Linked DNA regions of Homo sapiens: region 1 is linked to region 2. Evidence: promoter capture Hi-C in human tissues and cell types (Jung and others, 2019). All regions are on one chromosome and are shown on one strand. Each heading gives the region's core, a stretch centred on a gene start or on the middle of the fragment in contact. The rest is flanking DNA. Distances are from core to core; before and after follow the strand shown.

Region 1 (5,271 bases), core at 433-2,932, 950 kb after region 2:
GCGCAGGGCGGGCGGGAACGTGGGCACCCGGACAGCGACGGGGAGGTCAAGCAGCTGTGCCCAGGACCCGGGCGGCTCCGAAGCCTCAACACGCACACACTCGCGCGCACGCCGGCCCATCGGTTGCCTGGAGGAGTCGGGAAGGTGCTTCCACGGCTCTTCATTCATTTTCCCAAAGGCAAGGTTCCCTTCGCCCCGGCGCCTCTATCCTGCCATCCCAGGGGGCCAATTGCGCCACAGCCCGCCACCCAGCCACCCACAGCCACCGCGTCCTATCTCCCGGCACACACAACCCAACAGACTCGCATTACATCTCCACCGCCAGCGTCGCCTCCGCGCCCCGGCCGCTGCCATCCGGCTCCCCAGCTTCGCCGCCCCGCAGCCCCGGCTCCCCGCCTCTGGCCTCACCGCGCGGCTCAGAGCTGCCTCGCTCGGCTCGCCGCACCAAGGCCGGCCAGAGACGCCGCCACCGCCGGGAAGCGCCGGCAACTCCCGAGTCACGCCGCCTCCCGAGACGCGGCGGGGCGCAGGGAGGGGACAGCAGTGGGGGCGGGGCGGGGAGGAGGAAGGAGGAGGGGGCGGGGAGCAAAAGTTCACACCGCTCGGGGCTCAGCCGCTCCCCTATCTCTTCCCAGGCCCGCCCCCGCCATCCCCCTTCCCTGAACCGGGTCCCACGGGCTTAGGCGCGGGAGAGCTCTGGCCTCCCCGCCCGGAACCGCCGCAAGGCTAGAGCCAGGGTTCTGGAAGCGCATCCGAGCTCGCAACCGGGGAGAGAGTGGCGGATGCCCACTTACCTGCCCCGGGCCGCGCCTGGAAACTTCCCCAAAGTGCGATAGGGGTGTGGGGGCGGAGCGCAAGGCTGGGGGGAATCCCCGTCCCCTACCGCCAAACGACGCGCGCTCACACCGTGAAAGCACTGGTCTGTCCGTCGGTCGGTCCCCCGCCTGCGGCTCCCAGAGCTGGGCGGTGCAGGGGCGCCCCGATTCCGACTACTGGGCTCCTTCTCCCGGACAGCCCGCCGGTGCGTTCCACGCGGCTTGCGCCCCCCGCCGGCCTCCGGCTATCCACGGCGCCACCACGCCACTGCTCGGTCCCCTGTCCCCTCGCTCCGGCCGCGTCCTCTCTGCGAGGGAGGGGGCGTGTGTCGCCGCTGGGTAACCCTTCCCGCGGGGTCCTCAAGCGCGCAGGGCGCCCGGAGCGCGGCCAGGACCAATGGCGAAGGGACTCCTCCCGCTGGGGATCGCTGAAGCCTCGGGGAGGCCGGGCCAAGGAGCCCGGGGCCCAAACCTGCCTCGGCTCGTCGAGCTCGCAAGTTCATTGTCTGCCTGGGCCGCCGCCGCCACCGCCACCGCCACCACCGCGCCGGGAGCGCCGCGGGGAGTGAGGCTGCGCGCCGCCTCCGCCGGCCCGGACTCCCTACGCCCAGCCCCGGCCGCCGCCGGCGCTGCCTGGCCCGAACCCGCGGAGGGGCGCCGGAGCCCCGAGCCCAGGGCCAGACCTCCTACCGCCGCTCCTCGCCGACCCCACCTCGGCGTCTGGCACCTAACTTGTACCTGAGAAGCCTGAGTCCAGCCCGGGAGCCTCTGCGGCTCCGGCTCCGCGGGAGCGCGCCCAGCCCCGAGCCTCTAGCCCCGCATCCAGGGCGCGTCAACCTGACTCCCCGAGCGCTGGGAGGAAAAGTTTGGGAGTGACGTGCAGACGGCGAATGAAACATCCGAGGAGAACCCTCCCCCCGCCCCATGTCGCGCTGACACACATCAGCTCCAGTCTGGAATGTGAGATCAAGGCGTGTGCGCCGAGCGGTGGGTTTGGCCCCTGCCCCCTCCCCCTCCGAGTCAACACTGCTTGTGTGTTGCGGTGATTCCAAATAAAAGCACATCGAAACCCCTGAAATCTGGCAGTGACACCTTGCCAGATACTTCTTTTTTTTAAAGACAGAGTTTCGCTCTTGTTGCCCAGGCTGGAATGCAATGGCGCGATCTCGGCTCACTGCAACTTCCGCCTCCCGGGTTCAAGAGAGTCTCCTGCCTCAGCCTCCCGGGTTCAAGAGAGTCTCCTGCCTCAGCCTCCCGAGTAGCCGGGATTACAGGCATGCGCCACCACGCAAAATAGGCTAATTTTATATTTTTAGTACAGACGGGGTTTCTCCATGTTGGTCAGGCTGGTCTCGAACTCCCGACCTCAGATGATCCGTCCGCCCCCCCAACCCAAAGTGCTGGGATTACAGGCGTAAGCCACCGCGCCCGGCCGCCAGAGACATCTTTAAGGAACTTGGCGGTCTGGAGCCAGCCCGTACATTAATATTCAAGGCCACAGCGCTGGTGAGTTCGGCGCCCTCTGTTGTATTTTTGCATCCCGGGAAGGCTGGCCCGGCTCTTTGGCCCGGCGTGTTTTGCTTCCGCGGGGGAGGTAAAGCTCTGCAGGACCCCGATCGCCACGGCCTGCCGCAGTGGCCTGGAGTCGGCTGCCCCAGGGAACCACCTGGACAGCCCGAGGGCAAGAAAGCGGCACCAGTGGCCGACTCCACTGACTCTGGGCTGAAGATGCCATCAGTTAAAGAAAAGACACATGAAATTCTGGCAGATTCGCTCAGAGGGCGCTTGGAGCACCAAGCCCAGCCTCTCAGGAAACTGAGGTCCAAGGGACAAAAAGAATCTGCAGTCTCTTGCCGGCCTGTGTCCCCGTGGCCAGAGTCCAGCACCCTCTTCCTCGAAGCAACCAGAAGTGGAAATGAAAGTGCTCCGTTAACTGTAGACTACATGCCACCGAAGGGTCATTCCTGACAGTGGCTTCTCCCCATTATCTCTTTATTGCCGGAGGCTTCATCTCGCCCCCCTGAAGCTACAGTCCACCCTGAGGTCATAAACTTCTGCTCAGCACCCATGGCAACTAATGCAGAGGTCACCATCAGAGGATTATAACTGCAGATGGGAAACCGGGATGAGAGGGGAGTTCTTTAAAATCCTGTCTTGTTTTCCTGCAAATAATGCCTCTTACATAAAATCTGCGAAGAAAGATGAATGCAGCAAAGAGACTTGCCTTAGAATCTCAGACTAGATTGCTTTTTCCATATAGACTCCACTTAGTGATTTTTGTTCTTTATTTTTTTTTTAAACAAAAACCTATTTCTGAAAATACAACGAGCTGCTTTTTGCAGGGTTCACAATTCCCAATAGATGATGATGCCATTTTTCAAGGTCTCACACACGTTGTGGCTTTGGGGCTTATTTATTAGCTCCCAAGAAAAGCCTGCCTTTCAGTGAGGTTTATATACTCGAGTAATTGCATCAGGGGACACAGAGCAGGTTGCTGTTAAAGAGGGTTGGTTGTACATGCGTCTGCAAGGAAGGCCCTGGGCCAGGCAGCTGTCAGACCAGTGTGCAACGGGTTTAAACAAACACAGGGAAGGGTCTGTGGAAACAGCAAGGAGGAAATCCCCTTCTGTAAGGGTGTGTGGAACATTATTCCAGGGCCACACATACTGCCAGGGAATAATGCCTTTCCTCTCCTCCCTCCAAGTAAACACATAACTCCGTTATGGAGATGGCGCTGGGCCCACCCAGATCACTTTCAAATTCAGGTGTCAGAAACCACGGTTGACATGGAGCAAAATTGTTTTTAAGTAAAAATCACGGTGCCGCTTTGATATGAATTCCACCAGGGACTTTCCAAAGGTATTTATACACGTGCCTGAGATTAACTAGAAGGTGATTTTTTTCCTTTCAACCTTAATTTCAAAAAATTACCCAAGAATTGCACTTGAGCCTGTTACTGCAGAGAATTGAAAGAACACCCAAATGCCAGGTCCCTGTGGATGGGTGGAAGGATAGACAAATAAATGTGTAACTGCAAGAGAGGTTGATACCAACATGGTATTAGCAAGTCACGGCTGAAAAAAATGCAGATACCGGCCAAGCACGGTAGCTCACGCCTGTAATCACAACACTTTGGGAGGCCGAGGCGGGTGGATCACTTAAGGTCAGGAGTTCGAGACAAGCCTGGCCAACATGGTGAAACCCCGTCTCCACTAAAAATACAAAAATTAGCTAGGCGTGGTGGCGCAAGCCCGTAGATTCCCGGGAGGCAGAGGTTGCCGTGAGCCGAGATCACACCACTGCACCCCAGCCTGGGTGACAGAGTGAGACACCCTCTCAAAAAAAGAAAAAAGAAAAAAAAATGCAGATACTTTCAGAAAATAAATCCCCGCTTCCCGTGTGTGCACTCTAGGCCCCCACAACTGTGGATTTAAATTGCCTGGGTTCAAATTCTACTTCTGCCACCCACTAGCTGAGCAACCCTGGGCAAGTCACTTCTTTCCATGCCTCAGTTTGAGGCTTCTGGTAGCACCTACGAGCAGTCAATTGAGCTGTTGATCCCAACTCCTCACTCTCCCGTGGTGGTTATCACACGTCTGCATCCTTGTCACAGCCTTCCAGTGCAGGGACTGTACTTCCCCATTCCTTGACTTTGGACTTGCTTTAGACAATGAGATAATGGGGAATATAACTGGATCAGAGGCTTGGAATGTGCTTGCAGGGCCAGACCTGCTTTCCTCTGCTCTGGTGGTCCACCATGAGACGAACATGTTGCTGCCTCTTCCAGAGAGGCTTCAGAATGAACACACAAGGAAGAAACCTGAACTTGATTCGCTGTCTGGAGCCATGTCACTCCACATACAGCAGGACTCAGAGCTGCTTTAGGCAACCTACAGAACATGAGCAAGGCAGGGAAAATGCTTATTGTTGCAAGCCACTGAATGTTGCAAAGTGTTTTGTTACACAGCATTGTTGTGGCTGTAGCTGGCTGATACATGGCCTCAGTGGGCTAGTGTCAAGACTGAAGACAAAGTATTTTAAAAATACTCAGCACAATTCCTAGGACACAGTAAGAGTTGAAAATAGTAGTTCTTATTAGTAATCATTATTATTGCAAGTAGTTTTACCCATGATAGTCACATAATTGAATGTTTGTTAACATGCAATTACGTAATGAGGTTGAATCCATGAATAAGTATAACTTGAATAAAGATTCTGTAAGAGATGCTACAAGGACACCAGCAACCTGGAATGTCAGGGACTTGCCACAATCCTTAAAATCACATTCACTCACTCACTCATTCATTCATTCATTCAGCAGACACTCTCTGAACACCTGCTGTGTGCCACTCACAGGGCTGAATGTGGGAACCACTAAGGTCACTAAGACTCAGCCCCCTCCTGAAGAAAGGGACCTTCAAAGTCCCACCTTGTGACAAGCACTGTGCTAAGCACT
Region 2 (5,611 bases), core at 2,134-4,633:
TCAGAAAGTTTATCATTCCTTGGAACCTGGTTATGCCTAATTCCTAGGAGAGGGAGACAGGGGGTCGATCCCAAAGATGCAGAGGGGCCATCCTCCAAGGTGTGGGTATTAAACTGAGTAGGATTGGGCGGAGCTATCCCAAGGCTAGGGAGGTGGGCGGGGTGTGGGATAGTACTGAGTTGAAGGATTGCCACTCGTTAGGGGAGAGACATGAGGTGTCTGTGGGTGGTGGTTCCAGGAACTGAGTGTTCCTGGGAGTGAGTTTTGTAGCTACACTGGGCCCAGGAGAGGGCGTCTGGGCCTCCGTGCTCCCGGTGAAGATCCCCATATGCTAGAAAGGGGCGGCAAGGAAGGTTGTTTCTTGTCCCTCCCGTCCTTGCGGTGTGACGGCTATAGGTGCTGGAGGGGCGGGAGGTCCCTCGGGCTATCAATCGAGGGGAGCTCAGGGGAACTGCAGTCAGTCAGGCTGCAGAGCTGGGTCTCCACCACAGCCTTCCTTGCCCCAGCCCCGTGCCCACCACCATCTCTTCCCTGGTAAAGTGCACGCACTAGTAGGAGCTCAGTGAACGTTTGCTGAATGAATGTGTGAGTGTGCGCAGGCGTTTATGCAAGTGCCTTCATGCGAATTAATGCGTCCTTTGCCGGGTGTGGCAGCAGAGGAAGTGCCTCGGTGAAGATCAGACCCTCGAAGCGATTAGAGGGACGGGACAGAGGAAATACAAGGCAAGATGGATCTTTTTGACTTCCCAAACTATCCCTAGGGGAAGGAGAGATAGGGACGCAAGGCTTCATAACTTCCTTGTTTAGAGTCCGCAAGCCAGGCTTCTTGCAAGGGTCGACTCCCCAGTCTCTCACTGTTTCAGGGCCTGGGAGTTGCTTTTCCGAGGCCCACTTCGAGGTCCCCTGATCTGACAGAGATCACTCCTTGGGCTCTTGCCCCACCCATATACCCGCCCCCGCCATCCCGAGTCAGCAGGATCCTCACAGTCTTCCCCGCAGCCATCCTCCAAGCTCAATGCCTGTGTCTGCTCCTCTCTCCCTCCTCCCAAATGTGATGTATTGGCAGTGGAACAACCTTGAGCACGAGTCTTGCTTTGTCTGCCTGGGCTAGTCTCTTGTTTTCTTGAGCCTCAGTTTCCCGGCCTGTACATTGAGTGAATAGATCTGTGTCACTTGTTTGCCATCAGGATTAAAGCGAAGAATGCTGGGGAGCTTCCAGCATGTTCCCCGCACGACATATTTACAGTTCAGGAAGGTTCGACCAACTTTCCCTGCCTGCCCCCAGCTTTCTTCCCCAGCGGGGTGGCTGGCACTGCTCCCCGAGTTAGCTGGCCAGTTCCCCTCGGGGCTGCCTTGACCCTGGCTCCGGAGGCAGCGCCTAGCTCAGGATGTCTGCGAGAAGCGGATGGTTAGTGAGAATCCGACGATTCTTTCGCTGAACCTCCCGCGTACCCCCCAACAGCGCGGGAGCACGCGGGACCCGCTGCGACGTGGCCCAGGAGCCTGCGCCGCCGCGGCGCAGAGGAGAACGCACAAATTGTATTTCAGCGCCAGGTCCTTCCGGGTTAATGAGCTGACACCATGATTAAAGCTGACCATTTGTAATGTGTCTCGACCCTGCCGCTGAGCCCTGAAGAGGTTAATGCGGTGACGGAGGCCGGCACCTGCCCCTCGCTGGCCTCCCGGGCCGCTGCGCGCACCCCCTGGCCCCCGCCCCCTCGCCTGCCCCTGCCCCGGCTGCGCGGCCGACTCCTAATCAATTAGCCCATTAACGAGCCCCTCGAGGAGTTAAGTAGGGAAGAGTTCTGCCACGGGCAGGGCCGCAGTCGGTAACTCACCGCGGCTAATGATATTATAAGCGCTTTACTTAATAACCCGGGCGCGGTGCAGGCGAGGAAGGAACTGCACAGTCATGCAGTGTCTGGACATTTGTGGGGACTGATTCCAGAGTCTCCACTCACCCTTGGCTGCACTTGGGGGGCACCCTAAAGACAGGGCTTCTGGAATCTCTTGGCCAAGAGGTCTAGAGGTCACAGCTTGAGGGGACGGGGTTGCCTGAGCACTTCGGGCCTTGCCTCACTTCAGTTTCCAGGAAGCTTGTGCAGACGACTGTGGCCCCAAACCGCTTTGCTTGGCTGGGCTAATTCTAGCTCGGGTAACAGCTGATCTAGGAATTAAAGGGGCGAGAGCCAGGGCACAGAAGGGGGCTATGAGAACACAGAGGGAATCACTATTTACTGAGCACCACGGTGTGCCAGGCTCGGTGCTGGGTAGTTTGACCTCACAACAGCCTCTGCGAGGGAGGCACTGCTTCCTCCAATTTTAGGAATAAAGAAACCGAGCCTCAGAATTTCCAAATGTCTTCCCCCAAGATCACCCAGCCGAGAATTGAGTCGAGTCTGCTCAATTCTAAAACCGAGTCCTGTCACCAGTTCCTTATCTTCTTCCTGGGAGTAAGGCGTCTATTTCTGCAGCAGTTCGGAAACCTTCAAAATTTACAAAACAAAAACACAGATTCGCTTAAAACACGGGTGGGCCATGGGCTACCCGGCCAGGTTTATGGAGTACCTACTATGCGCTGCTAGTGCTTCGAGGCTTTTAATCCCTACCTGAGGCAATCCGAGAAGTTATTTTCAACTATGAGGGCAGAGAGGCTTTAATCGGCATGAGTTGTGCAAGTTCATGCAGTGTGTAAATAGTTGTGCCGGAATTTGAACCCAGATCTCTTGACTAGAGGTCTTAGGGCTTCCTCCCTCCCCCTAAAGATTCTGTAGGTCCGTAGAACCTGTGACAGGGATGAGGTCTGCAGACGGGGAAGGGGAATGTCTGCTCCCAAGGCTCCTGGCCATGCTGGAGAGGATGAGCGTCCGCCTGGAGACGCCTGCTCCTAACCCACCTCACCCCCACGCAGGGCGCCACGGTCCCAGGAGTGCCGGCTTTGCCCGCCCACTGGGGCTAGAAGGGGTGGAGGGCTGGGGGAGGATGGTGGAGCAGCCTGTACAAGCCCCTGGGAGGCGCGGAGACCCGTCGCCTGCGGAGGCGTCGAGCCACTCCAGCTCCGAGTCCCGCACCGCCCCTGCCTCTGGAGAGAAGGGTCCAAGGGGTCCAAGGAGTCGGAGTTGCCGCAGCCGCCAGGAACCCGGGCTAGAATCTGCAGCTGCTTTCAGCCCTGGCTGCCCCTGGTTAGACGCCGCTGATGCCCGCCAGGCCCTCGGCGCGCTCTGGGGGCGCACCGGTGCTGTGTGCCTGGCCGGAGCGTTTTGAAATTTTCCGGGGCCGCTCGGCGGCGCTGCGATTGGCCGCGTTCGGGTAACCTCTATGCAAATGAGGCCGCGCCGCCTCCGCGCCGCCGGAGACCCGGCGAGTTGGCGGGCGAGGAAGGGGCATTTGCACCGGGGCTGGGCGGGCGCACCCAGAGCCAGGCGGGCAGGAACCCCTGCGCAGCCATCCGGTGCCTGCATGTCCCTGGCGCGGAAGGGACGCCTCACCAGCCTCGGCGCCCCCTCCCCCTAGATTTCCTCCCCGCCCCTCCCCACTGCCTGCCTGCTGCACCACCTTCCACCCAGATCACCCAGATCGTCTCTAAAGGGAGTTCTTGGTTTCCTTCGATTTCTTATGAACCCAGGATGGGCAGCAAAGAAGATGCGGGCAAGGGGTGTCCGGCGGCCGGTGGCGTCTCCAGCTTCACCATCCAGTCCATCCTGGGCGGGGGCCCCTCGGAGGCACCGCGGGAGCCCGTCGGCTGGCCAGCCAGGAAGCGCAGCCTGTCCGTGTCCTCGGAGGAGGAGGAGCCGGACGACGGCTGGAAGGCGCCCGCCTGCTTCTGCCCAGACCAGCACGGCCCTAAGGAGCAGGGCCCCAAGCACCATCCCCCCATCCCTTTTCCTTGCCTGGGTAAGGATCGCACGTCGCCAGTGTGGCAGCGAGCGAGCGCGAGGGGAGGGAGGCTGAGCGCCCCGCCAAGACTCCCGCGCCGGGCCCCCTCTGGCCAGAGCTGCGGCAGCCGGGGGTTCGGGACCGCGGGGAGAGGGGCGCGCACTGTGGTGCCTCCTCCGCCCGGTGGGCCCCTGGGAGCAGGCGAACACAGACCCGTGCCGGCTTGGGCTTCCTGGGGAAGGTTGAGTTGTTGAGAGAGTGGACCACAGCGAGAGGGACACGCGGCCGGCCTTACACCCGGCTGTCCTCAATCACTGCACATCTGGTACTTTCTTTCCGGACACGAGGTGGAGATCTGCAAGTCGGGTCTGGGCAGTCTGTCTCCACCGTAATCTCTTTCTGAGTCTTCTTCCTCACTCGCTCCGTATCTCTGCCTTTCTCTCTCTCTCCTCCTTGGAATGATTAGCACTCCAAGATGATTGACAATGGTGCATTTCAGAGACGGTTCCTCTTTACAACATTTGACGAAGGGGAGTCCTGCGTTAGTCCTTAGCGTGATTTCCAAACAAACGGCCTGTGAAATGATGCCACCCTATAAAGCTCGAGGAACTCTTCCAGCTCAATTACCACCAAGCAAATTCGCCTTTTAAAACCATGCTAATGTTTCCCCCTCCAGACCTCCTCTCCCTGTTGCCCCTGGCCCATTCATAAAGGTGGGAGCACAGAGACCCCATACTCCAAGTAGCTGGGTCCCTCTCTTGTCGCTTTTAAAGGACGGGGTGCTGGGTTTGGGGGGCCAGTGAGAGGGATAAGAGGAGGGGATTGGTAAGGTGGGACCAAGGCTGCAGGCGCTTGCCAACCGCTTGGTCCCAGGGAGAGCTGGCGGTCTCCGAGGCTCCCCAACCAACTCCATGGCCTTTCTGTCTGTTCTCGCTCCTCAGGTACCCCCAAGGGCAGCGGAGGCTCGGGCCCGGGCGGCTTGGAGCGCACGCCTTTCCTCTCTCCTTCGCACTCGGACTTTAAAGAAGAGAAAGAGAGGCTCCTGCCCGCGGGCTCGCCCTCGCCGGGGTCCGAGCGGCCGCGGGACGGCGGCGCTGAGCGGCAGGCCGGCGCGGCCAAGAAGAAGACGCGCACCGTCTTTTCGCGCAGCCAGGTGTACCAGCTCGAGTCCACCTTCGACATGAAGCGCTACCTGAGCAGCTCGGAGCGCGCCTGCCTCGCCTCCAGCCTGCAGCTCACGGAGACCCAGGTAAAGACTTGGTTCCAGAACCGCCGCAACAAGTGGAAGCGGCAGCTCTCGGCTGAGCTGGAGGCGGCCAACATGGCGCACGCGTCGGCGCAGACTCTGGTGAGCATGCCGCTGGTGTTCCGGGACAGTTCGCTGCTGCGCGTGCCGGTGCCGCGCTCGCTCGCCTTTCCCGCGCCGCTCTACTACCCGGGAAGCAACCTCTCGGCCTTACCTCTCTACAACCTATACAACAAGCTCGACTACTGACCGGCCCGCCGCCCCGCGCCGCCCCCAGCTGCCCGCAGAGCCGGGCGCGTACTGTACTGTAAGCAGGGCTCCGGAGCAAGGCGGCGTGTTTCCAGAAATATGAAGAAATACACCATGTGTATTCATTAGCTCTTATTTATGGTCTCTGCCCTACTTTTTGTTTTGATTGTTTCGGGTATTTATTGGCATTCCCTAAGTCAGAGAGCCTGCTTCCTACCTAGACCGAACCAGTACGCTTTG

Evidence for each region. The method cuts DNA at HindIII sites, captures the fragments that hold promoters and counts their contacts. A contact is called where the count stands out against the background at its distance.
Region 1: the fragment with the promoter of CHST15 here is called in contact with the fragment with the promoter of HMX2 in region 2 in 1 of the 25 tissues and cell types used here (aorta).

What each region holds. Positions count from the first base shown.
Region 1 is chr10:124,091,916-124,097,186 of GRCh38, forward strand. CHST15 (carbohydrate sulfotransferase 15) reads right to left here and starts at 1,683. Exons shown (of 8, transcript NM_001270764.2): 1 at 1,554-1,683. The HindIII fragment of the contact is 16,611 bases long and covers 1-5,271 here.
Region 2 is chr10:123,144,753-123,150,363 of GRCh38, forward strand. It overlaps HMX2 (H6 family homeobox 2), which reads left to right and starts at 3,384. Exons shown (of 2, transcript NM_005519.2): 1 at 3,384-3,894; 2 at 4,818-5,611. The coding sequence starts at 3,627. The coding sequence ends at 5,371. RefSeq lists silencers at 3,254-3,573, 3,964-4,093, 5,201-5,495. The HindIII fragment of the contact is 11,811 bases long and covers 943-5,611 here.